6 separate regions of the Homo sapiens genome follow, and all the other regions are linked to region 1. The links are contacts of gene promoters, found by promoter capture Hi-C in blood cells and fetal thymus (Javierre and others, 2016). All regions are on one chromosome and are shown on one strand. The core of a region is centred on a gene start or on the middle of the fragment in contact, and the rest is flanking DNA. Distances in the headings are between cores, read along the strand shown. Region 1 holds the start of PDZD9 (PDZ domain containing 9). Region 2 has its middle 46 kb from the start of CDR2-DT. Region 3 overlaps METTL9 (methyltransferase 9, His-X-His N1(pi)-histidine). Region 4 holds the start of LOC124903663 (a long non-coding RNA gene). Region 5 overlaps EEF2K (eukaryotic elongation factor 2 kinase). Region 6 overlaps EEF2K (eukaryotic elongation factor 2 kinase).

Region 1 (4,019 bases), core at 649-3,148:
GAAACCTGAGGAAAGTGCTCGCTAGGGCCCAGTGGCAGGGACCCTGGAACCCGAAGGTACTGACAAAGATGATCCTACTGCTGTTGAAAGTGAGATCTTCAATGCTTCCTCCCTGGAAAAGGGTGAGCTCAGAAAAGAGTGAGCTGCTGTGTTTGGGGACAACCAGGTGGAGGAGGCAGCACTATGGTCCTCGGAGAGCCAGACCCCAAGCACCAGACTAAAATATGAAAGACTTACAGGTTTTGCTACAAGGCTAGTCAGACAGCAATGTCAACCTTCCCAAGGACAAGCAGTCCAAATGACAACAGCCCTGCAGTGAAAAAGCCTAAGGCTGTCTGGCACCTGCCTGCCTAGTTCAGCCTCTTTGCCAACCTCAAGTCTTATCAAATCCTGATGCTGTGCGGAAAAAAGCCATAAAGAACAAGAATTGCTCAGTGCAGGAGTCTGCATCCTTCAGTAAGCCCACCTGGGGGCTAGCAGAAGTATAAAGTGATTAGAGCCTGGGCAACATAGTGACACCTCATCTCTTCTATTTAGGCTGGGCATGGTGGCTCACACCTGTAATCCCAGCACTTTGGGAGGCCGAGGGTGGGCGGATCACTTGGGGTCAGGAGTTCGAGACCAGCCTGGCCAGCATGGTGAAACACCGTTGCTACTGAAAACACAAAAATCAGCCAGGCGTGGTGGTTCACGCCTGTAATCCAAGCTACTCTGGAGGCTGAGGGGCAAGAATCGCTTGAACCCGCCTGGAAGGCGGGGGTTGCAGTAAGCCAAGATCATGCCGCTGCACTCTAGCCTGGGTCACAGAGCAAGACTCTGTCTCAAAAAAAAAAAAAAAATTAGCTGAATGTGGTGGTGCATGCCTACAGTCCCAGCTATGGGAGGCTGATGCAGGAGGATTGCTTGAGCCCAAGAATTGGAGGCTGCAGTGAGCCAGGAGCATACCACTGCACTCCAGCCTGAGCGACAGAACAAGACTCTGTCTCTAAAAATAAAATACAGTGACCCATATGCTATTTTAAGATTTATGTGCCCTTTTAATAAAAATGAAAGGGCCAAAGTCCCTATTTACATTGGTATAATTTTTTAAAGGCTCCTTACTATGTGATTTCATTTTTATGATGTTCTCCATGGAAAAGGCAAAAAAAAAAAAACGCTGTAAAAAACAGATGGGGGTGTGAGGAGCTGCAGTGGGGTGGGGTTTGGCTGCAACTGGGCATTGCAAAGTAATTTTAGGGAGTGGTGGAACTGTTCCCTATCTTGATGGAGGGGGTGGTTCAACGTGGGTATAGCTTGTCAAAACGGTAGCTGTACTTTTAAAAGGGGGGATCTTACTGCATGGAAATTATACCTTGATAAAAATAACGATGGCCAAGGCGGGCGGATCACTTGAGGTCAGGAGTTTGAGACCAGCCTGGCCAACATGGTGAAATCCCATCTCTACTAAAAATAAAAAATTAGCTGGGCATGGTGGCAGGCACCTGTAATCCCAGCTACTCGGGAGGCTAAGGCAGAGGAATCACTTGAGCCTGGGAGGCAGAGGTTGCAGTGAGCTGAGATCGCGCCACTGCACTCCAGCCTGGGGGACAAAGCAAGACTCCTTCTCAAATGATGATGATGATGATGATGATGATGATGATGATGATGATGATGATGATAATGATGATGATGATAACAACAACGATGGAGAGAGGTTATCTCCCAGGCCAAGAGTGCACCGTTGCCATTTTACAGAGGAGGAACATTGACGAAGGCTTGGTCCCCAGGGCTTCTTCACCCGCTTCCTTCTCCCCAGTTACCTTTTTTGTTTTTGTGGGAGGCCTTCTGCATGGTCCCGGGAGGTCAGGCAGCCCGGGAGGGCCTCCCGGAGCAGAGGCTGGAGTCAGTCCCAATGCCAACAGTTTCGAACCTTGCCCGCGGGCACTGCCCTCGGGATGGCCGCCAGGGGGCGCTGCGCCGCCACTGCCCAGAAATTGGGCGGCAGTGAGGTCGCCGCAAGGCTTCCCGTGGACCCTGCAAAACGTGGCGTGGGCATTGCACACCATTGTACTGTATGGAAACTTCTGCAGAGGTTAGCACCGTGCCTGACCCACGGTGGTTTCTTCATTCCTTCTTTTCTTTTTCTTTTTTTAAGAGACGGGCAGGGGGTGGGGGTCTCACTATGTTGCTCAGGCTCAACACAACTGTTGCACTATGGGCTCAAGCGATCTGCCCGCCTCAGCCTCCCAAAGTGCTGGGATTACAGGCATGAGCCACCGCGCTTGGCTTCTTCATTCATTCTTGGTGAACCTAAGAAATAGGGAGGGGGAGAAGGCACAGAGGAGGGTGTCTCAAAGATGTGAGGTGGTCTGCAGAGGAAGATCACAGCCAGAAGATCACAGGAGATCACAGAATACCTAGAAGATCAGAGAATCCCCCGCTGCACTTCTAATAATGGTATTTTAAAAAAATTGTTACATCAGTAGCTCCAATGCTTTGGAACTGCACTTTTTTTCATGAATGTTTTGAATAAGAAAAGGCCCCAGGGTGGCCTAAAAAAAAATGAGTCACTATTAGGAGAGGCACTATTAATGCTTCCTTCTTTTTTCCAAGATAATTCTTCCTCCCACACACATTCACTCATACAACAAGTATTTACAGGGAGCTGTTCTGTCATTTACTGATACTGGGGACACAACAGTAAGCAAGACAAACACAGAAACACAGGCTCTATCCTCTTGAAACCTGTACTTAAAAAACAGATGAAGTGGACAATTTTAGGAAAATATAAATTATTAAAAATAAATTCTAGGCCAGGTGTGGTGTCTAACACCTGTAATCCTAGGTACTCAGGAGACTGAGGCAGGAGGACTGCTTGAGCCCAGGAGTTTGAGATCAGCCTGGGCAACATAGTGAGACCCTTTCTCTATAAAAAAAATTTAAAAATTAGCTGGGCATGGTGGTGCACATCTGTAGTCCTAGCTACTCAGGAGGCTGAGATGGGAGGATCACTTGAGCCCAGGATTCAAGGCTGCAGTGAGCTATGATTGAGTCACCACCTTCCAGCCTGGGTGATGGAGCAAGATCCTGTCTCAAAAAATAAAAATGAATAAATGAGTTAGTAAATTCTAGAAGAAAGAGAAAACCTAATGAGGTAGGCCCTGGTGTTATCCCCGGTCTGATGAAACTGAGAGGCTAAGCACCTTGCCCCATCCCTTCAACAAACAGTCATTAACCACCTATTAGGTGTCAGGCACTGTGCAAAGATTTCCATGGTAGATCTGGTTATGTCCAAGCTTATTCTGTTGTTTCTGTGGCTCTACACAGACAATAAGCCAGGGCAGATTCCTCTTTAGGTTCCTTTTTTTTTTTTTTTTTTTTGAGATGGGGTCTCATTCTGTCACCCAGGCTGGAGTGCAGTGACAAAATCTCAGCTCACTGCAACCTCCGCCTTCCAGGCCCAAGCGATCCTTCCACCTCAGCCACCAGAGTAGCTGGGACCACAAGCCTGTGTCACCACGCCCAGCTAATTTTTGTATTTTTAGTAGAGACAGGGTTTTGCCATGTTGGCCAGACTGGTCTCCAACTCCTGAGCTCAGGGTGATCCACCCGCCTTGGCCTCCCAAAGTGCTGGGATTACAGGCGTGAGCGCCAGGACAGATTTCTCATTAGATAAAACCTGTGTCGTAGAGACCAGTACAAAGGGCTATTCTCCACCTCAAGTCTCCTGTGGGTGACTTCTTGTGACAGGTCACCTTTCCTCTTCCAAACAGTCTGGCAGGGGTCTACATAGATACCAACTTAATTCTATCATAAAATACATCTTTTTCCTCCATCTTCCTACCAGCAGGGGAAGGGTAAGAGTTTGTGGGAATAGAGCCCATCAGCATATATGGTTCTGTGATGGAGCATATCAGTGCCTGGCCTCCCCTTAGTCTTCCCTCCACCCCAGGCTAAAAAGTGTCTTTAAAGCGGAGGTCTCTACACTCCACCAAGCCAAGTAAGCCAAGGTCACACTGATTGGTGGAACTGCAGGATAC
Region 2 (4,019 bases), core at 548-3,047, 420 kb after region 1:
TATCTCTCTGAATTTTCTTTGTATTCTCAAAGAACACGAAGGCCCTAAAGCAATAGTTCTCAACCTTGTTGCACATTAGAATCACTTGGAGCCTGAAAAAGTCCTGATGCCCAGACCATACCCTAGACCAGTTAAATCAGAATGTCTGGGGCGTGAGATCCAGGCATATGTGTTTTTTTAAAATATAAAACAATACTTCATTTCCTTTATTACCTAGTTGTATCGTTAAAATAAGAACAAATACAGTGGAATGGAATACTTCATATGACTTCATGTGAAAAATACTTCATTATACAATAAACAACCCTCATGCATTTCAACATTGCCACCAGTAACACTAAAGACTCCCAGTTCTATTCATATGTGATCATCACTGCCCTACACCCCAACCCCAGCTCCTCCAAGCTTCAACAGGCATCAGTATTTTTCGTAGCCCCTGGCTTATTCCATCATGCAGCCAATGTGGGAATCTAGAGATTGACTTCCTTGGAAACAGAGGCTCTAGAGACTAATTCTTATTGGCTCAGCTATAGACACGTTGGCAGCCAGACACGTTGGCACACTAGTCTCATGGTACTATAAGCATTTTTTAGAGGTATAAACTCAAACAGCACACTCAAGTGTCATTTATCTTTGAGTGATAATTTAACAGTTGGCATTTGGTGGCCCCACATAGCTAATGCTAATCTGAAAGTGTCCAACTGAAGTCCACAGGTTAATTGCACACTTAGCAGGATATGGTGTGATGATCAGAGAATTCTTTGAGATTCACCAGTGTAAAGAATTTAGCAAAAATGTGGCTGGGCATGGTGGCTCTCGCCTGTCATTGGATCCCTTGAGTCCAGGAGTTCAAGGCCAGACTGGGCAACATGGTAAGACCCTGTCTCTACAAAAAATACACAAATTAGCCACATGTGGTGGTGCACACCTGTAGTTCCAGCTACTCAGGAGGCTGAGGCAAGAGAATTTCTTGAGAATTTCTTGAGCCCATCAACAGGTTTTGAATGTTCCAGTCTTTTTTTTTTTTTTTTTTTTTTTTTTTTTTGAGTCAGGGGTCTCATTCTGTCACCCAGGCTGGAGTGCAGTGGTGCGATCATGGCTCACTGCAGCCTCAACCTCCTGGGCGCAAGCCATCCTCCCCTCTCTGCCTCCTGAGTAGCTGGGACAACCATGCCCGGCTAATTTTTTTTACAAGACCACTGTTAAAAGCCCGGAAGAATCCTGCAGCTCGCTGTGGTGGGCTGTTTTGCGTGTGCTAGAGTCTATTCAGCATTTCAGACAGAAAAGCCTCAGCATTCCTCTTCTGTGGGTCTCCACCGTAGCTCCTTTGAAATCTCTGCTTTCTCACACTTTCCCATCTGAGTCTTTGTGCCATGGCCGTCCCCTCCTCTCCAATACGAAGAGCCCACACTCAGTTTCCCTCCCTCCTCCTCCATCCCACACTGCCCGAGCACCTCACCTCCCAATGACTGACTCGTCCCCGGTCTTGCACACACCTGGGGAGTGTAGCTGGCCTGTCCTGCACACCAGCCTTGCAGGCTCAGTGAGTAGACCATCCTTGTCTGCTCTTGCCGGGTGCAGCTGTGTGTAGTGGCCCAAGGGGGGGTCATCTGGGAGGGCACCAGGAAGCATAAGTGACATGCACCATGAGGAAGCGTAAGTGATGTCCACCACAAGAGGTGTGGGGAGCGGCAGCAGCGCGTTCATCCACTGTGCTTGACTTTGTTTATTTCCCCGATGACCTTTTCCCGGACTTCCTAGCTGGATCTCCGTGAGTGCCAGGGCTGGGTCTGGGAAGGGTTTGGGACCCAGCACATCACCTGGCACAGTCAGTGTTTGCTCAATATTTGCTGAGAGAAAACCCCAGCCATGTCACCGACTTACAATAGGAGCTTCTCGTACGGAGCAGAAATGTGTTGTTGCCTGTGGCTTTGCAGGAGCTCCGAGCAGTGGCGAGAGGAAGTCATGGGTGACCATGGTAGGCATTACCGCCTGATGGGGTTGCTGGCTGGTCCTGAGCTCATCACCGTCCATCTCCTGCATCCACAGTGATTTCTATTAAGTGCAGCTTTTCGTCAGGCAACCACCAACGGCACTGAGGGGTGGGATGATGGCAAATTGACCAAAACGCTCAGGGGGTGCTAGCCACGCGGCGGGTGCAGATGTGGACTCCCCAGCCCCACGAGCTTGGAGTGCCATTCAGCCCCGCTGCACCCCCGTCTGTCTCCAAGGCGGAGGAACTGGGGTGGGAGGAGGAGGCACAGAGCTGTCTGAACACAGCTAGAGCCACTCACTGGCCCCTGCAGGGGAGCAACGCAGTGGGGAAGCCTGGAGGGAGGGAAGGTGCAGTTGCAGTGGGTGGGCACGGGGGCTCAGCTACTGGCACAGAGAAACACAAGGGAACTACGAAAGAGCAGGAGGGAGGACGCGGGGGTGGGCGCAGGGCTGGAGGACCGGGTGGTCCACAAGGTGGTCAGGACCTCAGCTGGTGGCTGGGCTTGGGAGGGGCTGGCATGGAGTCACGGGCCACCATCCCCTAAGTGTTTCCATAGGCAAGGTTCTCATTCCCCTAGTCAGGGGAGGGGACGGGTACAGAGAAGCGCAGCAATGAGCCAGGAACAGAGCTGAGATGAAACCTCAGCCTCCCGTCTTCAGAATGAGAATTAATCCACAGAGGAGCTAAGGAAAATGCCGGGCACCGAGTTGACGGGTGAGGGGTGTGAGCCATGTGGCCGGCATGGCCGCCCCACCACCAGCTCCATCCTGAGCACTTCACAGACATGGCCCTCTTCATCCACACAACTGCCCCAGGAGCCACTGAATGAGGCTCGATGAAACCTCAACTCGCGTTGCAGCGCACGTCTGATCACACTCGCCTTTGATCACTTTTATCACTGGGGATCCTGCAGTCAGGGCTTTGTGTCTGCAGCGGTCCCTGGGAAACAATCTACAACTCGAAGCTCCACCAAACTCACTCAGAGTCACAAAATTTCTATCACTGACTGCTTTCCTCCAAGGCCCAAACTGGATTTATAAACTTCCAAAGAAAACTTCATATTGAAAAAGCGATGTACCCACAGCATTGTAGAACGATGTTCACAAAGGAAAAACAAGGCCGGGCGTGGTGGAGTGAGGCTCTAGTCCCAGCTACTTGGGAGGCTAAGGTGAGAGGGTGGTTTGAGCTCAGGAGAAGCTTGCAGTGAGCCCAGATGCACTTCAGCCTGGGCAACAGTGCTAGATCCTGTGTCAAAAATAATTTTTTTTTTTTTTTTGGTGGCTCACATCTGTAGATGCAGCTACTCAGGAGGCTGAGGTGGGAGGATCAATTGAGCTCCGGAGGTCGAGGCTGCAGTGGGCTGTGATTGCACCACTGCACTGTAGCCTGGGCGACAGAGCAAGATCCTGTCTCCAAAAAAAAAAAAAGGAAAAACTATTGTTTTTGCCATCGCCACCCAGTAAACATAGTTACTGATATTTTTACTTGCAGTGTAACTTTCTGGCCCCTTCCCATAATCACATGTATTTGGTAAGCTTTTGTTTTCAAAATAAGCCAATAACATTTAATAAGAAACAACAGTATATTTGTCTGTTTTCATGCTGCTGATAAAGCCATACCCGAGACTGGGTAATTTACAAAGAAAAAGAAGTTGAATGGACTCACAGTTCCATGTGGCTGGGGAGGCCTCCCAATCATGGCAGAAGGCGAAAGGCAGGTCTTGCATGGTGGCAGCCAAGAGAGAGAATGAGAACCAAGCAAAAGGGGTTACTCAGGAGCCTGTGGCAGGAGAATGGCGTGAACCCGGGAGGTGGAGCTTGCAGTGAGCGGAGATCGCGCCACTGCACTCCAGCCTGGGTGACAGAGCAAGACTCCGTCTCAAAAAAAAAAAAAACCCATCAGATTGGCTGGGTGCAGTGGCTCACGCCTATAATCCCAGCACTTTGGGAGGCTGAGGTGGGTGGATAGCTTGAGGTTGGGAGCTCGAGACCAGCCTGGCCCACATGGTGAAACCCCATTTTTA
Region 3 (4,019 bases), core at 459-2,958, 390 kb before region 1:
GCCTTGGAGAGAAAGGGGAAGGAAATATGAAGAGCTACTGGCCTTCTATTGTGTGCCAGGCACTTCAAATATATTATCCCCAGTAGTCCACATAGAACTCTTGGAGGTTGGTGGTATCATCCGCACTTTACATACAGAAAAGTGAGGGTGAGAGAGAGAAGAGACTTGCTCACCAGCACAGAGTTAATGGATGATAGAGTTGGGCTTTGCACCCAGCTTTGGTTTCAAGGCAACACATTTTCTGCTGCTTTATGATGCCCCTCCTGGTAAACCTTGTGTTGTCTGAGGGGTGGTAAAAATAGGCTTGCCTTCTTTTTTTTTTTTTTTTTTTTTTTTTTTTTTTTTTTTTTTGAGAAACAAGTTCTTACTCTGTCACCCAAGTTGGAATGCAGTGGCCTGATCATATCTCACTGCAGCCTCAAACTCCTGGCCTCAGTACATCCTCCTGCCTCGGCCTCCTGAGTAGCTTCTAAATCTTTTGTAGAGGCAGGGTCTTGCCATGTTGTTCAGGCTGGTCTCAAACTCCTGGCCTCAAGCAGTCCTCCTGCCTCAGTCTCCCAAAGTGCTGGGATTACAGGCGTGAGCCACTGCTCCTGGCCTAGGCTTGCCTTCTGAATAGGAAACTGCCCTCATTCTAGTGAGGCCTCTGTGTAGACACTGAAGTTAGGTAGCTGTGTGCACAATACTTGTTGAAGATTTTGTAGTTTGTGAATTAGATGAGAATAAGACAGCTGCTTGAAGTTCTGGCCTTTATCTGGTTTGTGCATGCTTTTTTTAAGGCTTAAAGTTGAAAAAAGATTCTTACATGTATTGTCATTTTTTCCTGACATCAGCCATTCTCTAATTTTCCATCACCAAGTGGGTGTTTAATTGTTCAATCCTGTTCTGACATTAACTACCTGGAGTTAGGGTCACGCTTTACAGAGTTAAGAGCTCAGTCCCACAAGACTGCCCTCACTTCAGAGGCCAGCTGGAAGTCCTGGGTTCCCAGGCTGCCAGTGCTTTTGTCCACCTTGAACAAATTTGGGAGTTCCCACAACTCTACCTTCACCCTACCCCACCCCACCCCCTAATTTCCTATAATAGAATGACTCATAGAACTTAGGAAAACACAGGTGCGGTGGCTCACGCCTGTAATCCCGGCACTATGGGAGGCTGAGGTGGGTGGATCACGAGGTCAGGAGATCAAGACCATCCCGGCTAACAGGGTGAAACCTGGTCTCTACTAAAAATACAAAAAAATTAGCTGGGCGTGGTGGCACGTGCCTGTAATCCCAGCTACTGGGGAGGCTGAGGCAGGAGAATCGCTTGAACCGTGGAGGCGGAGGTTGCAGTGAGCTGAGATTGCGCCACTGCACTCCAGCCTGAGCGACAGAGCGAGACTCCGTCTCAAAATAATAATAATAATAATAATAAACCACTTAGGTTTACTGGTTTATTACAAAGGATACAATTGGGGAACGGCCAAGTGGAAGAGGTGCATAGGGTGAGGTGTGGGAGGTGGTGTAGAGTTTCTCTTTCCTCTGATGAGCCACCCAACCATCATATCAATGTATTCAGCAAACTAAAAGCTCCCAGGACCCCATAGTTTAGGGGTGTCATTACATAGGCATGATTAGACTCAGTCTTCAACTCCTTTCTCATCCTTGGAGATTGGAAGGTGGGGCTGAAAGTTTGAACCTTATACCCACATCCTGGTCCCCATCCTGAAGCTGTCTGGGTCTCCCACCCCTATCAGGAGTCATCCTGTTAGCATACAAAAGATACTCTTATTACCCTGAGATTCCCGAAGGGTTTTAGGAACTCTCTATCAGGAACCTGGGACAAAGATCAAATATGTATTTTTTATTATACCACATCATCTAAAATCAGTCAGTTTTTAAAATTACTTTCTGACTCTGCTAGTGTGCTTAAATCCTTTGTATTTTGGGAATGTTGTATTTTGGATATGTTGTATATCACATGTTTGATTAGTTGATAAACTCCAAAAATAATTTCAGAAAAACTTTTAACCATATTTGGTCTGATTAGCAAATCTAATTTTATAGGAAAATTGCATTCCTACTTTGAACGAGTGATTCATCAACCAAGGTTATATATAAATATTAGGAGGAGTTCATGGGCTTAATGAGAAATTTTTTTTTTTTTTTTGACAGTCTTGCTTTGTCGCCCAGGCTGGAGTGCAGTGGCACACTCTGGGCTCACTACAACCTCTGCCTCTCTGGTTCAAGTGATTCTTTTGCCTTAGCCTCCCAAGTAGCTGGAATTATAGGTTCCTGCCACCACGCCTGGCTAATTTTTGTATTTTTAGTAGAGACGGGGTTTCACCATGTTGGCCAGGCTGGTCTTGAACTCTTGACTTCAAGTGATCTGCCCACCTGGGCCTCCAAATTGCTGGGATTACAGGTGTGAGCCATCGTAGCCAGCCAGGAAATTTTTAAGACAGTATGACCTAATATTTAATAACTTCGGTTGGCGAATACTGTCAGACATGCATTCAAAACGCGTGGCAGCCACCTGATTTGGCTGTTTACTGCCTGGCCAATTATTAGTATCTTTGCAGTTGTGTTGCCAGTAGGGAGAATATTGCTATTTACTGTAATTTTTAGATATCACATCCTGTTCTGTACTTGGCATCAGCAGATGACTGAATGGAATCATTCTCATTTGATTAGAATTTGTCATTTAAAAGATTCCCTTGTTTATTTAGATGAAACAACATTTGAGTGAGCTTTAAAGGCAGATGCTAATAAGATGCTTTTTCAGACATGGTAGGCTCCAGCCAAGGAGTCCAGCCTCACAGTAGAGTGGGCGTGTAGTCCTGTCAGTGTGTGAATTTAACGGGCATAGTACTTTGTTCTTGCCTGTGCACCTTTGTCTCTGTAGTCTTTAAGGAGCACACATTTAAAGAACTCACCTGCGGCTGGGCGCAGCGGCTCACGCCTGTAATCCTAGCACTTTGCGAGGCCGAGGCAGGCAGATCACCTGAGGTCAGGAGATCAAGACCAGCCTGGCCAACATGGTGAAACCCCATCTCTACTAAAAATACAAAAATTAGCCAGGCGGGGTGGTAGGTGCCTGTAATCCCAGCTGCTTGGGAGGCTCAGGCGAGAGAATCACTTGAACCCGGCAGGCAGAGGTTGCAGAGAGCCTAGATCACACCACTGCACTCCATCCTGGGCGACAGAGCAAGACTCCGTCTCAAAAAAAACAAAGAACTCACCTGCTTGAAAGTACACAGGAGCATACAGACAAGCCACCCAGTGCTGCGAGCTTAGCGTAGCTTTTTATCTAAGCTGGTTGTTTGGAGAGAGGTGAAACCAGGAGTCCTGCCCATTGGGTTAAAGGGGTTCCTGCAGATTTTTTCTCTCCTTGGTCCTTGGTATTTCACCTTAAGGGCAAGGTGACTGCTCCTTTAAGGCTCTGAAGCTCCTCGCCAAGATCATAGTCACATTACTTGTTTCCCTTGGTTTCTGATTTTATTTTCACTCTGGAATGTAAGTTCTCTGAGGCCAGCGAGTCCATCTTTTAATTCAGTCAGCTGGAGTCCCTAGACCATAGTTAGGCTGGGATAGTGGGAAACACTACTGGAGAGTCAGTACAGTGACATTTTGTGGGTAAGGCCATGTATGGGTTCTCAAGCAGTGGCAGTTTTGCCTCCCAGGGGACATTTGGCAATGCCTGGGACATTTTGGGCTGTCATTTGGGGTAGTGCCACTGTAACCTGATGGATAGGCACTAGGAATGCTGCTGAACATCCTACAATGTGCAGGTCAGCCCCTATAACAAAGGATCATTTAGCTCCAAATGTCAGTAGTGTGAAGGCTGAGAAACCCTGGCTTACAGGACTTTAGTTACTATCTAGACCAGATTATCTTTTCTCTACACACATGTAGTTCAGTTTAATTGGCAGGATAGTCCTGCTTTCTTTTCTTTAGCAGACACACTGGGTAGAGTTAAGTGAAGAGAAGCTTCTTTGAAAGAAACGCTTATAAAACAACACGTACCTGGAGCAGGAG
Region 4 (4,019 bases), core at 963-3,462, 360 kb before region 1:
ATAACAATGGTGGCAGATATCTCATGCCCTAATAAGATTAAACTAACTTAATATTTAAGTGATATACAATGAGACTTAATTTTTACATCATTTTTGAGATGCTTTTACTCCATTAAAAACTAATTGAACAAACTGACGTTGATTGTAGGATTTATAGTAATCCTAACACAATGGTATACATCTCCCTTCTTATACACATAGCCAAAAGGTATTCTTTTTTAATAACTTTAGCCCTTTTTGAAGATTTTAAGGCGGCTTTTAGTTTCTTCATCAACCCATTTTTGTTCTTAAAGACTGTTCTTAAGGCTTTCGTAGATAACAGTAATATCTCGCCCTCCACCTGCCCACACCTCACCCCTACAGCAGAAAGATAGCATAGTGGATGGCTCTCTTCTTAATCCCATGCTACTGGGCTTTAAAGAGAAAACAGCAAACTATGTCCCCTGGCTAATAATTTCAGTGATGAGAATGTATGATGCCTTCTTCCAAAGACCTCTTCTGCAGGTGGTGTTCCCTGCAGATGCACAGGAAAATGTTAATTAGGGAGCTCTTGCTGAGGCCCATAACTTGTGGAGAGATAGAAATTATTTTTCTTTTGATAATATTCAAGGATATAGGGACATTCCATGCAAGAGGATTTGACTTACTTTGGAGAGGAGTATGAAGGCCACGCACACACCGGTCACATAGACAGAGAGCAGTGATACAAGAGCTGTCAGGAAGCTCCGCAGTTCCTTGCTGAGCAGCTTAATTTCTTAATGACAAAAACAGAAAGAAGCACATTGACTATTAAAGCCTATTCTTTCAAATACATGTGTAAAGTATCCTTCACACTGCGTTTTAGAGGTGAAACGTGAACTTACTCTGCTTGCCTATTCGTATAAAAACTAGACCTCAAAAGGTACTCAAGTATGTAATAGTTAAAGCCAGTTCATCAGTTCTTTAAATGTGTTAAACCAAAAATGTTACTCGTTTTTAAACATTAAAAAAATTCAACCAACCATTTGTCATATTGCTAAGCATCACTTTTTAGATAAAGGATTATTTGAAGTTAGATAAACATTTCCAGACAGTTTGTTCAAGGGCATCTAAAATCTCTTTTGGTAGAAACGGTTTACCAGTATCATCAAGAGTCTGCCTATGTGGTTAAGATATTTTCATATGTATTTGTTAAGGGTGATATTTATAGCCTTGGAACTAGTACACATAGCTGAAGAGTCCCATCTGTGAAAGAACCTGGGAAGGCCATACATTGAGGAGCGCAGTGCTCACTGCGTGCTTGAAAGACAGGCACTTTTGCCAAATGTGCTCTTCTTTCTTTATGATAAAATTCTGGAAATAGAGTTATTGAATCCATTTTCACATTCGGAATTTCTCTCTCCTTGCAGAAATTGTCTTGTGCTCTGGGTAGGGATTAAGTAACATGCCATGTCTTCAATTACCTGACTATTTGGAGTACAAAATACAATTAGATTTGTACTTACTGTCTGAATAGCCTGTACTTTCCAACTAAATATCCCATAGATGAGACTGAGTGTGATGGCTCATGCCTGTAATCCCAGCACTTTGAGAGGCCGAGGTGGGCAGATCACTTGAGATCAGGAGTTTGACACCAGCCTGGCCAACATGGCGAAACCCCATCTCTACTAAAAATACCAAAATTAGCTGGGCGTGGTCGCACATGCCTGTAATCCCAGCTACTCAGGAGGTTGAGGCAGGAGAATCGCTTGAACCCGGAAGGTGGAGGTTGGTTGCAGTGAGCTGAGATCACGCCACGGCACTCCAGCCCGGGCGACAGAGCAAGACTCTTGTCTTAAAAAAAAAGAAAGAAAAATCCCATAGATGCTTATCCTGTGAATGCAGTTTATGCAGCATACATTTTTATTTGTGAAACTAACAAATTAACCACATCTATACAACTAAAATAAAAAAGCTTCAGTGTGAAAATAGGAGTTCTGTAGAAGAGACAGGAAGTTGCCATGTCTGCCTTAACACTTTCAATTCTGCCTTTCACTTTCACTTCACTTTATATAAGCCTTGCAGCTTTGAGACCTTCATCTTTTTACAAGCCATTTTTCCCTTTGACTAACATGTTTTTAGAAGGCTAATGCAGTGAGACATACAAATCTCTAAAGCTGTGTGTGTTTTCATATCAGTAGCTAACATTTGTTATTTGCTATATGCCAGGCACTATTAAAAATGCTTTAAGTGCCTTAACTTATTTATAATTTAGCTGACAGATGAGAATAAACTAAGGTTAAATGACATTTGAATATCAAAAGCCCATTAGAACCCTCGTAGTTTAAAAGCACAGGTTATAATACTGGATGGTCTCCCTTCCTCAGAGTCCTATTTTGAAATCGAAGGGCTGGTTGATTTTGAGTTCATGTTTTAACAATCTCTGCTCATCATACCAGGGTCCTTCCTAAGGGAAGAGACCCCAACAAGGCGAGGAGTTGCTGCTGTTCTCTTTTTTCCTTCAGAATCATGTAAAGCTTTTTCTCTGAAATTCCCCCTTTTTTTTTCTCGGGAATGTCTTAATCTCAGTTTACTCAAGGGAATGACTTGGTGAAATTACTGATAGGATTTAGCTATGTTTGATGTCCTCGCTCGGCTGAGGAATTGTCATGGGTTTTATCAAATCTCAGGAAGTGAGAGTCATCACTTTCCGTTCACTGATGTCCAGGCAGAATGGGAAGGGTCAGGGATCCCTGAGTAGCTTCTCTCCAAATCTGTGCTTATTCTCCATGTTGCATAGTTTCTGTGGGTCCAATTTATTGATCTTTTACACTTCTCTAGTGCTTTGTTCTAGGTGGTGCATTACCAGACTAGTTCCTGAGAAAGCTGATAGTTACTCACCACAAGGTTCCCTTTGGACATGGTACTTTACACTAAATCACTGTAATATACAAAAGAGGTGAACATGGTTGGTTAAACATCACCATGTAGGGAGAATAGAGCACCCAGCAAATCACTGACTTTGTGTTAGTGGATGTTCGAGATGGATTGGAGTAGTTCTTTTGTTTTTCTGAGATGGAGTCTTGCTTTGTTGCCCAGACTGGAGTGCAGTAGTGCGATCTCGGTTCACTGCAACCTTCGCCTCCTGGGTTACAAGCGATTCTCCTGCCTCAACCTCCCAAGCAGCTGGGACTACAGGTGCATGCCACCATGCGCGGCTAATTTTTGTATTTTGAGTAGAGATGGGGTTTCACCATGTTGGCCAGGCTAGTCTTGAACTCCTGACCTCAAGTGATTCGTCCACCTCAGCCTCAAAGTGCTGGGATTACAGGTGTGAGCCACCACGCCCAGCCAGTTGGAGTAGTTCTTTAGTCCAAACCTCATGGTGACTTGTGTTCAGATCACACCCATCACTGGCTAGGGTATTAACTTAGCAAATTTATCTCCTGATTTCTACATGTGAGTGAGGTAATGATTTTACAGGCCTGAACAAGATGCAATGATGCACTGAAATAAAGCCTCGCTGACTGACCTCTTACCACCAGTGTGGTCCCTCCTCCTGTCTGTTTAGCTCTCGCTTCCGGCACACTGGGGAATGCTATTCCACAGATGTAAATTGCACTGTCATTTGAAGTCACTCTGTTTACAGTGAGGGAAACTTGGTTTTCTTTGAGGGCCTCCCTCACTGTGAACTTGTCTGCCTCACTTTTGCACCCGTCCAAGCACAGGTTCTCAGGCTGGTGAGCACCGTAGCGAAACCACAGGCATGTTGGTTGCTCAGAAGGGCATCCGGTTGCGGAGAAGGTACACTTTATGGTGACGGCCTCATGAGTGTAGTCCACTTCTAGGTACCACGGTTGTGTGACAGAGAGAGTACAGGCGCCCACAGCACCTGTGGGAGGAAGCAGATGAGTGGGTTAATGGGCCTGCCACCTCACTTTGTGCTTTTATTATATTTTTGAGGTAGGAAACCCAGCCATTCTGTTATTTTTCTTACCTTAATCCCAATATAAATAAGACTAAAAATAAACACCAGTGGTCCTCACTTGCCCCAACTCCTC
Region 5 (4,019 bases), core at 689-3,188, 280 kb after region 1:
ATATTCCATTGTGTGGATATACAGCCTTTATCCATTCATCAGTTGATAGACAAGTTATATATATATTTTTTCTGTTACATAATGTATTAGTCTTCTTGGGCTGCCAAAACAAAATACTATAGAGTGGGTGGTTTAAACTAAAAAAATTGCTGGGCACAGTGGCTCATGCCTGTAATCCCAGCACTTTGGGAGGCCAAGATGGGAGGATCACTTGAGTCTAGGAGTTCAAGACCAGCCTGGGCAACATAGGTAAACCTCACCTCTACAAAAGAAATTGTTTTAATTAACTGAGTGTGGTGGCACACTCAGTGAGCTATGATCATACCACCGCACTTCAGCCTGGGCAACAGAGTGAGACCCTGTCTCAAAAAACAACAAAAAAAATTATTTCTCCCAGTTCTGGAGGCTGGGAATTCCAAGATCAAGGTGCTGGCCAGTTTGGTTTCTGGCTTGTAGAAAACAGCTTTCTCACTGTGTCCTCACATGACCTTTCTCCTGGATGCAAGTGGGGAGACAGCAAGAGAGCTCTGCTGTCTCTTTTGCTTCCTAAACGGGAATGAGCTCTGTGTGATTAGGGCCCTACCCTTATGACCTCATTTAAGCTTTATCACCTCCTCACAGGCTGCTAGAATATGAACGTCCCCTCCAAGTCTCATGTTGAACTGTAATCACCACTGTGAAGGTGTCAAGAGGTGGGACTGTTAAGAGGTGATTAATGTTGTTATCATGCAGATTGGTCAGTCATCACAAAAGTAGCTTTGTTATAAAAGCAAATTTGGCCCCCTCTTGCTCGCTTGCTTTCTACGTCTCTTGCTCTTTGCCTTCTGGCATGGGATGATACAGCACCAAGGCCTGTGCCAGATGCTGGTGCTATGCTCTTGGACTTGCCGGGCTCTAGAACTGTGAGCCAAATAAATTTCTTTTCATTATAAATTATCTAGTCTGTGGAATTCTGTCATAGCAACATAAAATGGACTAAGACACAGACTGTGTGTCTCCAAATACAGTGCAGTTACATCATGAATGAAGAGTTCAACATATGAATTTGTGGATGGGGAGCCCAGTGGGGACACAGCATTCAGTCCCTAACATATAATAAACATACTAAGTTCCTAATTTCACAGGTATAGGATGAGGCTAAGTTTTAAAAGTTTTTAAGTTATATTTTAAAAATTAACAAAGAATAATGCAAATCTAGGCTGGGCAGTGGCTCGCGCCTGTAATCCCAGCACTTTGGGAGGCCAAGGCAGGCAGATCACCTGCGGTCAGGAGATCGAGACCAGGCTGGGCAACATGATGAAACCCCATCCCTACTAAAAATACAAAAATTAGCTGGGCGTGGTGGCAGGTGCCTGTAATCCCAGCTACTCAGGAGGCTGAGGCAGGAGAATCGCTTGAACCCCAGAGGCAGTGGTGACAGTGAGCTAAGATTCCGCCACTGGACTCCAGCCTGGGTGACAGAGTGAGACTCCATCTCAAAAAAAAAAAAAAAAAAAAAAGAAGAAGAATGATGCAAATCTATAATCTTTTATTTGAAAATTTTAAATCCAAAAAGCTCCAAAAACCTGAAGTATATTTGTATGTTTTACACAAATTCACTTGGTAAAACCTGACCTAGCTGACATGAAGCTGTTTGTAAGTCGTTATTTCTTCCACTTTTGCACATCCCCACTTAGTTCTGCAAAAGTTCTCACCCTGATTCTCATTGGCTCAAATTAGTTCTCAGCCTGATTCTCATTGGCTCAAACTCAATCATCTACATACCCCAAACCAACAGTAGTTGTTTAGATGGCTTACTCTGATTGGCCATGACTAAATCTGGACCAATCGCTGTAGCTTGGTGGGGGATAGGAGGAGTGCTATTATTGGCTAGATTTTATCACAGGCCCACCTTTAGAGCCCCGCCCGGAACACCTGGAGGGAGAGGGCACACGGAGTAGTTTGAGTTCTTAAGGAAACGTCAGGGTGTTCTTCTGGGAGGGGTGATGGGGGACACTGGGCTGGCAAAAACAACAGGTGGTTCACCTCTTTTTGCCCCCCTTTGCTGTCTTTCAGGGGACTTGTATACCCAGGCAGCAGAGGCAGCGATGGAAGCCATGAAGGGCCGACTGGCCAACCAGTACTACCAAAAGGCTGAAGAGGCCTGGGCCCAGATGGAGGAGTAACCAGGAAAATCACTGCCGGCTAGTCCCAAGCAAACGGGCTAGGAGGAAAGATTAAAAAAACAACAACAACAACTTATTTAGTTTGGGGAGGGGAAGCATTTTTAAGTGTGTTGTAAAATCAAATTTTATATTTCATTTTTTGACTCTTGAAAAATGTCTTTGCTCCTTGGCAGCTACCAGCAGAGACTCTATAGCTGTCTCTTAGGGCAGTATTTTGGGGAAGTGGGGCTTGAAGAAGCAGCCTAATGAACCAACATACCGTTTTGTGTGTGGTTTTTTTTGTTTGTTTGTTTGTTTGTTTTGAGACAGAGTCTTGCTCTGTCACCCAGGCTGGAGTGCAGTGACATGATCTTAGCTCACTGCAACCTCCGCCTCCTGGGTTCAAGTGATTCTCCTGCCTCAGCCTCCCAAGTAGCTGGGATTACTGGTGCACACCACCACACTCAGCTAATTTTTGCATTTTTAGTAGAGATGGGGTTTCACCATGTTGGCCAGGCTGGTCTCGAACTCCTAACCTCAGGTGATCCACCTGCCTCAGCCTCCCAAAGTGCTGGGATTACAGGTGTGAGCCACCATGCCTGCCCATTTTGTGGTTCTATTTTCATTTTTATTTCTTTTTTTTTTTTTGTCACGAGATATAAGAAAGTGCTTTTTGCCTTGAATGGACAATTTTAGGGCTGTGCTCACTAGTCTTTTCAGGCTGGACTGAAATGTCGGGCCCATGGAGCCCTGTGTTTTGTGCATCGGGATGAGAAATGAAGCACTTCACGCTGGCTTTCCTAAGTCACGGGGCGTGTATTGCCGTGGCTTAGTGCAAAGCATTCTTTCTCAGAGCATTTAGAGGCATGCGTGGCATTTTTTCAGTGGGTGTGAGATTGCACAATACCCAGGCTCCCTTCTACTGTGGGGAAGGGCCTGCATGTTGGCTGTTTTTTAAACTTCTAGTTCAATTTCCTTCCATAATGCTACTGATTTTCTGGCATACAGCCGAATTCCATCTTTTAAGCATGCTTTCTACGGTGGGCTTTTCAAAACAGGTTTGAGTTTTGTATGCACACGTTTACTACCTCTAACTCCTACATCAGCTAGTGTGGAAGAGGGTGCACCTCAAAGCTTTTACACGTAAGGACAGCGGCTTGGAATGTGAGAGCCTTTTCTCCAAGCAGACCCACACTCTGCATCTCAGTGGCAGCTCCCACAACGTGACTGCAATGTCTCTTATACAGTATTCCTTGGTGTTTTCTTAGTGTCTGGATGTTCTTACGTGAAATCTGCTCCCCAGCCCTGGTCCTTGGCATTTTCTGCTTGAAGCTGGGCTGATTTTCTTGTAATTTACAGCAGGACGCTTTCAGCAGCAGTCTCTTGGGATTTTATCTAAGATGTTTGAGGATGAGAGGGCAAGAACTATAAACACTCATTAATTCTAGTAGTCTCCCCATGGCCAGACAATGGCGATTGTTATTTAATGAGCTTTTCCTTTCAATGGAATTCAGCTCTCACATTAGTATGATTTCATTTGATGTTTCAAATAGCAAAGATGCTAGGTGCGGTGGCTCCCGCCTGTAATCTCAGCACTTTGAGGAGGGCCAAGGTGGGAGGATTGCTTGAGCTCAGGACTTCAAGACCAGCCTGGGTAAACATGGCGAGACCCTGTCTCTACCAAAACAACAAAAAAAAGACAGACTGCTTTGATCAACCCTAAATGCAAAAGCAGCCTATTTTTCTTTGTTTAAAAGTCAAAACATAAAAAAGCAGAGTATAACATACAAACCATTCTTAACTATTCATTAAAATGGGTCCTTCAACACCTTAGTGGGGTTTGTTGTTGTTGCTTATGCAGAGAGATTATTTTCT
Region 6 (4,019 bases), core at 560-3,059, 260 kb after region 1:
TGTGTGTTTGAAATATTTCTTAGTAAAATTGGCCAGGCATGGTAGCTCATGCCTATAATCCCAGCACTTTGGGAGACCAAGGTGGGCAGATCACTTGAGCCCAAGAATTTGAAACTAGCCTGGGCAATATGACAAGACCCCCATCTCTACAAAAAAATACAAAAGTTAGCCAGGCATGGTGGCACATACCTGTAGTCCCAGCTACTCAGGAGGCTGAGGTAGGAGGATCTCTTGAGCCTGGGAGGCAGAGGCTGCAGTAAGCCATCATCACACCACTGCACTCCAGCCTGGGTGACAGCGAGATCTTGTCTCAAAAAAAAAGAAAAAACAAATACCTTTTAGTAGAGGCTGGGCGCAGTGGCTCACGCCTGTAATCCCAGCACTTTGGCAGGCCAAGGGGGGCAGATCACTTGAGGTCAGGAATTTGAAGACCAGCCTGACCAACATGCCAAAACCCCATGTCTACTAAAAATACAAAAATTAGCCGAGTATGGTGGCAGTTTCCTGTAATCCCAGCTACTCAGGAGGCTGAGGCACGAGAATTTCTTGAACCCAGGAGGCGGAGGTTGCAGTGAGCAGAGGTCGCACCACTGCACTCCAACCTGGGCGACAGAGCGAGACTCAGTCTCAAAAAAAAAAAAAAAGAAATACTTCTTAGTAGAGGCGGGGTGTGGTGGCTCACACCTGTAATCCCAGCACTATGGGAGGCTGAGGCAGGCAGACCACTTGAGGCCAGGAGTTTAAGACCAGTCTGGCCAACATGATGAAACCTCATCCCTACAAAAAATATAAAAATTAGCCAGGCATGGTGGCATGTGCCTGTAATTCCAGCTACTTAGGAGGCTGAGGCAAGAGAATTGCTTGAACCTGGGAGGTGGAGGTTGCAGTGAGCTGAGATCACGCCACTGCACTACAGCCTGGGTGACAACGTGAGACCCTGCCACACACACACACACACACACACACACACACACACAGAAAAGATACTTCTTAGAAGAATAAAGAAGGAAATAAAACTATTCCGTTACTAATTGTGCAGGTGACATGCAGAGAGAGCTATAATTCAATGTTGGTAGGTACATGGCTGAAGTTTTAGAGATTCTAAATTATACCAGATTCGCTTTCAGAACAGAACTCAGACCTGGGAGAATAAAAAATATGCCCAACTAGGCCAGGCACGGTGGCTCACGCCTGTAATCCCAACACTTTGGGAGTCCAAGGCAGGCGGATCACAAGTTCAGGAGTTTGAGACCAGCCTGGCCAATATGGTGAAACCTCGTCTCTACTAAAAATACAAAAATTAGCCAGGCGTGGTGGCAGGCGCCTGTAGTCCCAGCTACTTGGGAGGTTAAGACAGGACAATCACTTCAGCTCAAGAGGTAGAGGTTGCAGTGAGCTGAGATCGTGCCACTGCACTCCAGCCAGTGTGACAGAGCGAGACTCCATCTCAAAAAAAAAATAAAAATGTGTGGTTTTGGTTGAGGGCTTATTTGTATTAAATATTGTTCCCAATGCTATATTTTTGTCCGTGGGTCATAGCCCTTAACCAGCCTTTGTTTTTCTGCCTGTGAAGTGGGTGAGTCACTCTCAGTAAAGCACTTCCTGTGATCCACACTCTCAGAATGTAACAGTGCATTTCACCCACACAGCCCTTCGATGTAGGGGCTATAATGAATCCCATAACTAAGGACACTGATGCTCAGAGAAGTTAAGCAACTGCCCAAGGTCTCAGCTGGCAAGAAATAAAGCCAGGATTTGAGCCCAGGTCATTTGGCTGTAGAGCCCAAGGTCCTTACTGTTACCTTATACTGCTCCCTCGTTGGCCAGGCAGGTCTTGAACTTGTGTCCTCAAGTGATCTGCCTGCCTCGGCCTCCCAAAGTGCTGGGATTACAGGCATGAGCCACCACACCCGGCAAGGGACAGCAGGAGCAGGGTGTTAGGTAATGGGACAGAGGGGAGAAAGCTAACAGTTGGGGTGTTGAGATGTCATAACCATTTCCAGGTGCTCAGGGGACCACCAGGACCCTAAGGCCGTCTTCTCTCCACAGGAGTCTGAGAATAGTGGGGACAGCGGATACCCCAGTGAGAAGCGGGGTGAGCTGGATGACCCTGAGCCCCGAGAACATGTAAGGAACCCCCAGGAAATGAGACCGGTGTCACCTGTTGCCTTGTTTATCCTCCAGGAAAATGAAAACTCCCCTTCCTGGAGGGGGAATATGAGTGGGTCCTGAGAAGATAACAAGTAAATTAATAAAGAGTATTTCAGGCCGGTCATGGTGGCTCACGCCTGTAATCCCAGCACTTTGGGAGGCCAAGGCGGGTGGATCACCTGACATCAGGAGTTCGAGACCAGCCTGGCCAACATGGTGAAACCCCGTCTCTACTAACAATACAAAAATTAGCCTGGCATGGTGGTGCATGCCTGTAATCCCAGCTACTGGGGAAGCTGAGGCAGGAGAATCACTTTAACCCAGAAGACAGAGGTTGCAGTGAGCCAAGATTGTGCCACTGCACTCCAGCCTGGGTGACACAGTGAACTTTGTCTCAAAATAAAATAAAATAAAGAGTATTTCAGATAAAGATAAATGCAAAGAAGATAAAACAGGATCATGTGGACCAGTAACGGGGCAAGTGTGGAGGCTTAGATATAAGGCTGATAATGGCTGACAAATCTTATGGTGAAGTGGGAGTCCTGGGCTGCTGAGCAGAGAGGATCCTGGGTAATAGCTGGACCCACTCATAGGCAGGATCCTGTGAGGCCCCAGGGAGGAGGGCCTTGGAGGTCAGTTTCCTTGGGTAGCCTCCCAGCAGCATCCTGGTGAGGGCAACCTCAGACAGTATCTGCCATTTAGAGGTCTTACCCTGTGCTGAAATGGAGCCTGCACATCAAGGCCAGTCTTGCCAGGACACCTCTGATCTCAGCTTTATGATTGTGAATAAAGAACATGCTGGCCGGGCGTGGTGGCTTATGCCTGTAATCCCAGCACTTTGGGAGGCCGGGGCAGGCAGATCACTTGAGGCCAGAAGTTCAAGACCAGCCTGGCCAACGTGGTGACCCCATCTCAACTCAAAATACAAAAATTAGCCGGGTGCAGTGGTGCACTCCTCTAGTCCCAGCTACTCAGGAAGCCGAGGCATGAGAATCACTTGAGCCTGGGAGGTGGAGGTTGCAGTGAGCCAAGGTCATGCCGCTGCACTCCAGCCTGGACCACAGAGTGAGACTGTCTCAAAAAAAAAAAAAAAAAAAAAAAAAAAAGTAAAACAGCTGGGCCTGGTGGCTCACCTGCAATTCCAGCACTTTAGGAGGGCAATGTGAGAGGATTGCTTGAACCTGGGGAGTTGGAGGCAGCAGTGAGCTTTGATCACACTGCTGCACTCCAGCCTGGGCAACAGAGCAAGACCCATGTCTAAATTAAAATATAAACTAAACATGCAGTAGGAGCTCTGCCCGTTACCCCAGTGGCTTTGTGTTGGGATCCTGCACCATCAAGTCAGTTCCACCTGCTCACACACGGAGGGGGACAGCAAGGCTGTGACTGCACCAGCGTTGTCATCCCTGCCTGTGACCCAGCATCCCTTCTGCTTGGCAGAGAAGGGTTCCAGTGTCACCTGGGAACATAGGGCCAATTTTCTGAGATAAGGGTCACCTAGGAGGGCCAGGCTGGTTCCAGGGAGGAGGGCTGGACCAGCTCTCAGGAGAGGTTCCTGGGAAGAAGCTTGTCGCTTTGGATCAGTGTAATTTCTTCCTCCGTTCAGGGCCACTCATACAGTAATCGGAAGTACGAGTCTGACGAAGACAGCCTGGGCAGCTCTGGACGGGTAATGCGCCCTGAGGCACCCTTGTCTCTGCCTCTTCCCTGTCTCCTCCAGGCTCTGTTGCTGTTTCTCCTGTCTCATATCTCTGCTGCCTGCCCATCTGTCTTGCACATGTGCTAAAGGAAGATTTTGCAAAGCAGCAAATCTGGGCAAATGCTCTTTGAACCTCTGCAGGGCAGGATGCTGGGGGATTTGTGGGGAG

The links. The method cuts DNA at HindIII sites, captures the fragments that hold promoters and counts their contacts. A CHiCAGO score of 5 or more calls a contact.
Region 2: a fragment that was not itself captured here is called in contact with the fragment with the promoter of PDZD9 in region 1 in 1 of 17 cell types (naive CD8 T cells); the score reaches 5.2 in naive CD8 T cells.
Region 3: a contact is called between a fragment that was not itself captured here and the fragment with the promoter of PDZD9 in region 1, in 1 of 17 cell types (neutrophils). The highest score is 5.5, in neutrophils.
Region 4: a fragment that was not itself captured here is called in contact with the fragment with the promoter of PDZD9 in region 1 in 1 of 17 cell types (fetal thymus); the score reaches 5.3 in fetal thymus.
Region 5: a fragment that was not itself captured here is called in contact with the fragment with the promoter of PDZD9 in region 1 in 11 of 17 cell types (total CD8 T cells, naive CD8 T cells, neutrophils and 8 more); the score reaches 23.2 in total CD8 T cells.
Region 6: a contact is called between a fragment that was not itself captured here and the fragment with the promoter of PDZD9 in region 1, in 8 of 17 cell types (total CD8 T cells, naive CD8 T cells, neutrophils and 5 more). The highest score is 10.7, in total CD8 T cells.

What each region holds. Positions count from the first base shown.
Region 1 is chr16:21,999,218-22,003,236 of GRCh38, forward strand. PDZD9 (PDZ domain containing 9) reads right to left here and starts at 1,899. Exons shown (of 4, transcript NM_001363519.1): 1 at 1,800-1,899. The coding sequence starts at 1,830. It also overlaps the pseudogene LOC100420536. RefSeq lists an enhancer at 2,045-2,094. The HindIII fragment of the contact is 4,622 bases long and covers 1-3,273 here.
Region 2 is chr16:22,418,500-22,422,518 of GRCh38, forward strand. It overlaps the pseudogene RRN3P3. Among named protein-coding and RNA genes, the nearest start is that of CDR2-DT, 46 kb to the left of the region's middle. The HindIII fragment of the contact is 2,788 bases long and covers 404-3,191 here.
Region 3 is chr16:21,604,946-21,608,964 of GRCh38, forward strand. The region is part of intron 1 of METTL9 (methyltransferase 9, His-X-His N1(pi)-histidine); the gene reads left to right. Among named protein-coding and RNA genes, the nearest start is that of METTL9, 7.4 kb to the left of the region's middle. The HindIII fragment of the contact is 4,521 bases long and covers 1-3,969 here.
Region 4 is chr16:21,643,643-21,647,661 of GRCh38, forward strand. The region is part of intron 4 of METTL9 (methyltransferase 9, His-X-His N1(pi)-histidine); the gene reads left to right. It overlaps IGSF6 (immunoglobulin superfamily member 6), which reads right to left. Exons shown (of 6, transcript NM_005849.4): 2 at 3,491-3,850; 3 at 648-754. LOC124903663 (a long non-coding RNA gene) reads left to right here and starts at 754. Exons shown (of 2, transcript XR_007065025.1): 1 at 754-1,534; 2 at 3,290-3,825. RefSeq lists an enhancer at 1,904-2,083. The HindIII fragment of the contact is 562 bases long and covers 1,932-2,493 here.
Region 5 is chr16:22,281,832-22,285,850 of GRCh38, forward strand. EEF2K (eukaryotic elongation factor 2 kinase) reads left to right here. Exons shown (of 18, transcript NM_013302.5): 18 at 2,056-4,019. The coding sequence ends at 2,165. Among named protein-coding and RNA genes, the nearest start is that of TRL-AAG2-4, 13 kb to the right of the region's middle. RefSeq lists an enhancer at 457-751. The HindIII fragment of the contact is 2,676 bases long and covers 601-3,276 here.
Region 6 is chr16:22,261,061-22,265,079 of GRCh38, forward strand. EEF2K (eukaryotic elongation factor 2 kinase) reads left to right here. Exons shown (of 18, transcript NM_013302.5): 12 at 2,050-2,127; 13 at 3,758-3,820. Among named protein-coding and RNA genes, the nearest start is that of TRL-AAG2-4, 34 kb to the right of the region's middle. The HindIII fragment of the contact is 3,812 bases long and covers 1-3,715 here.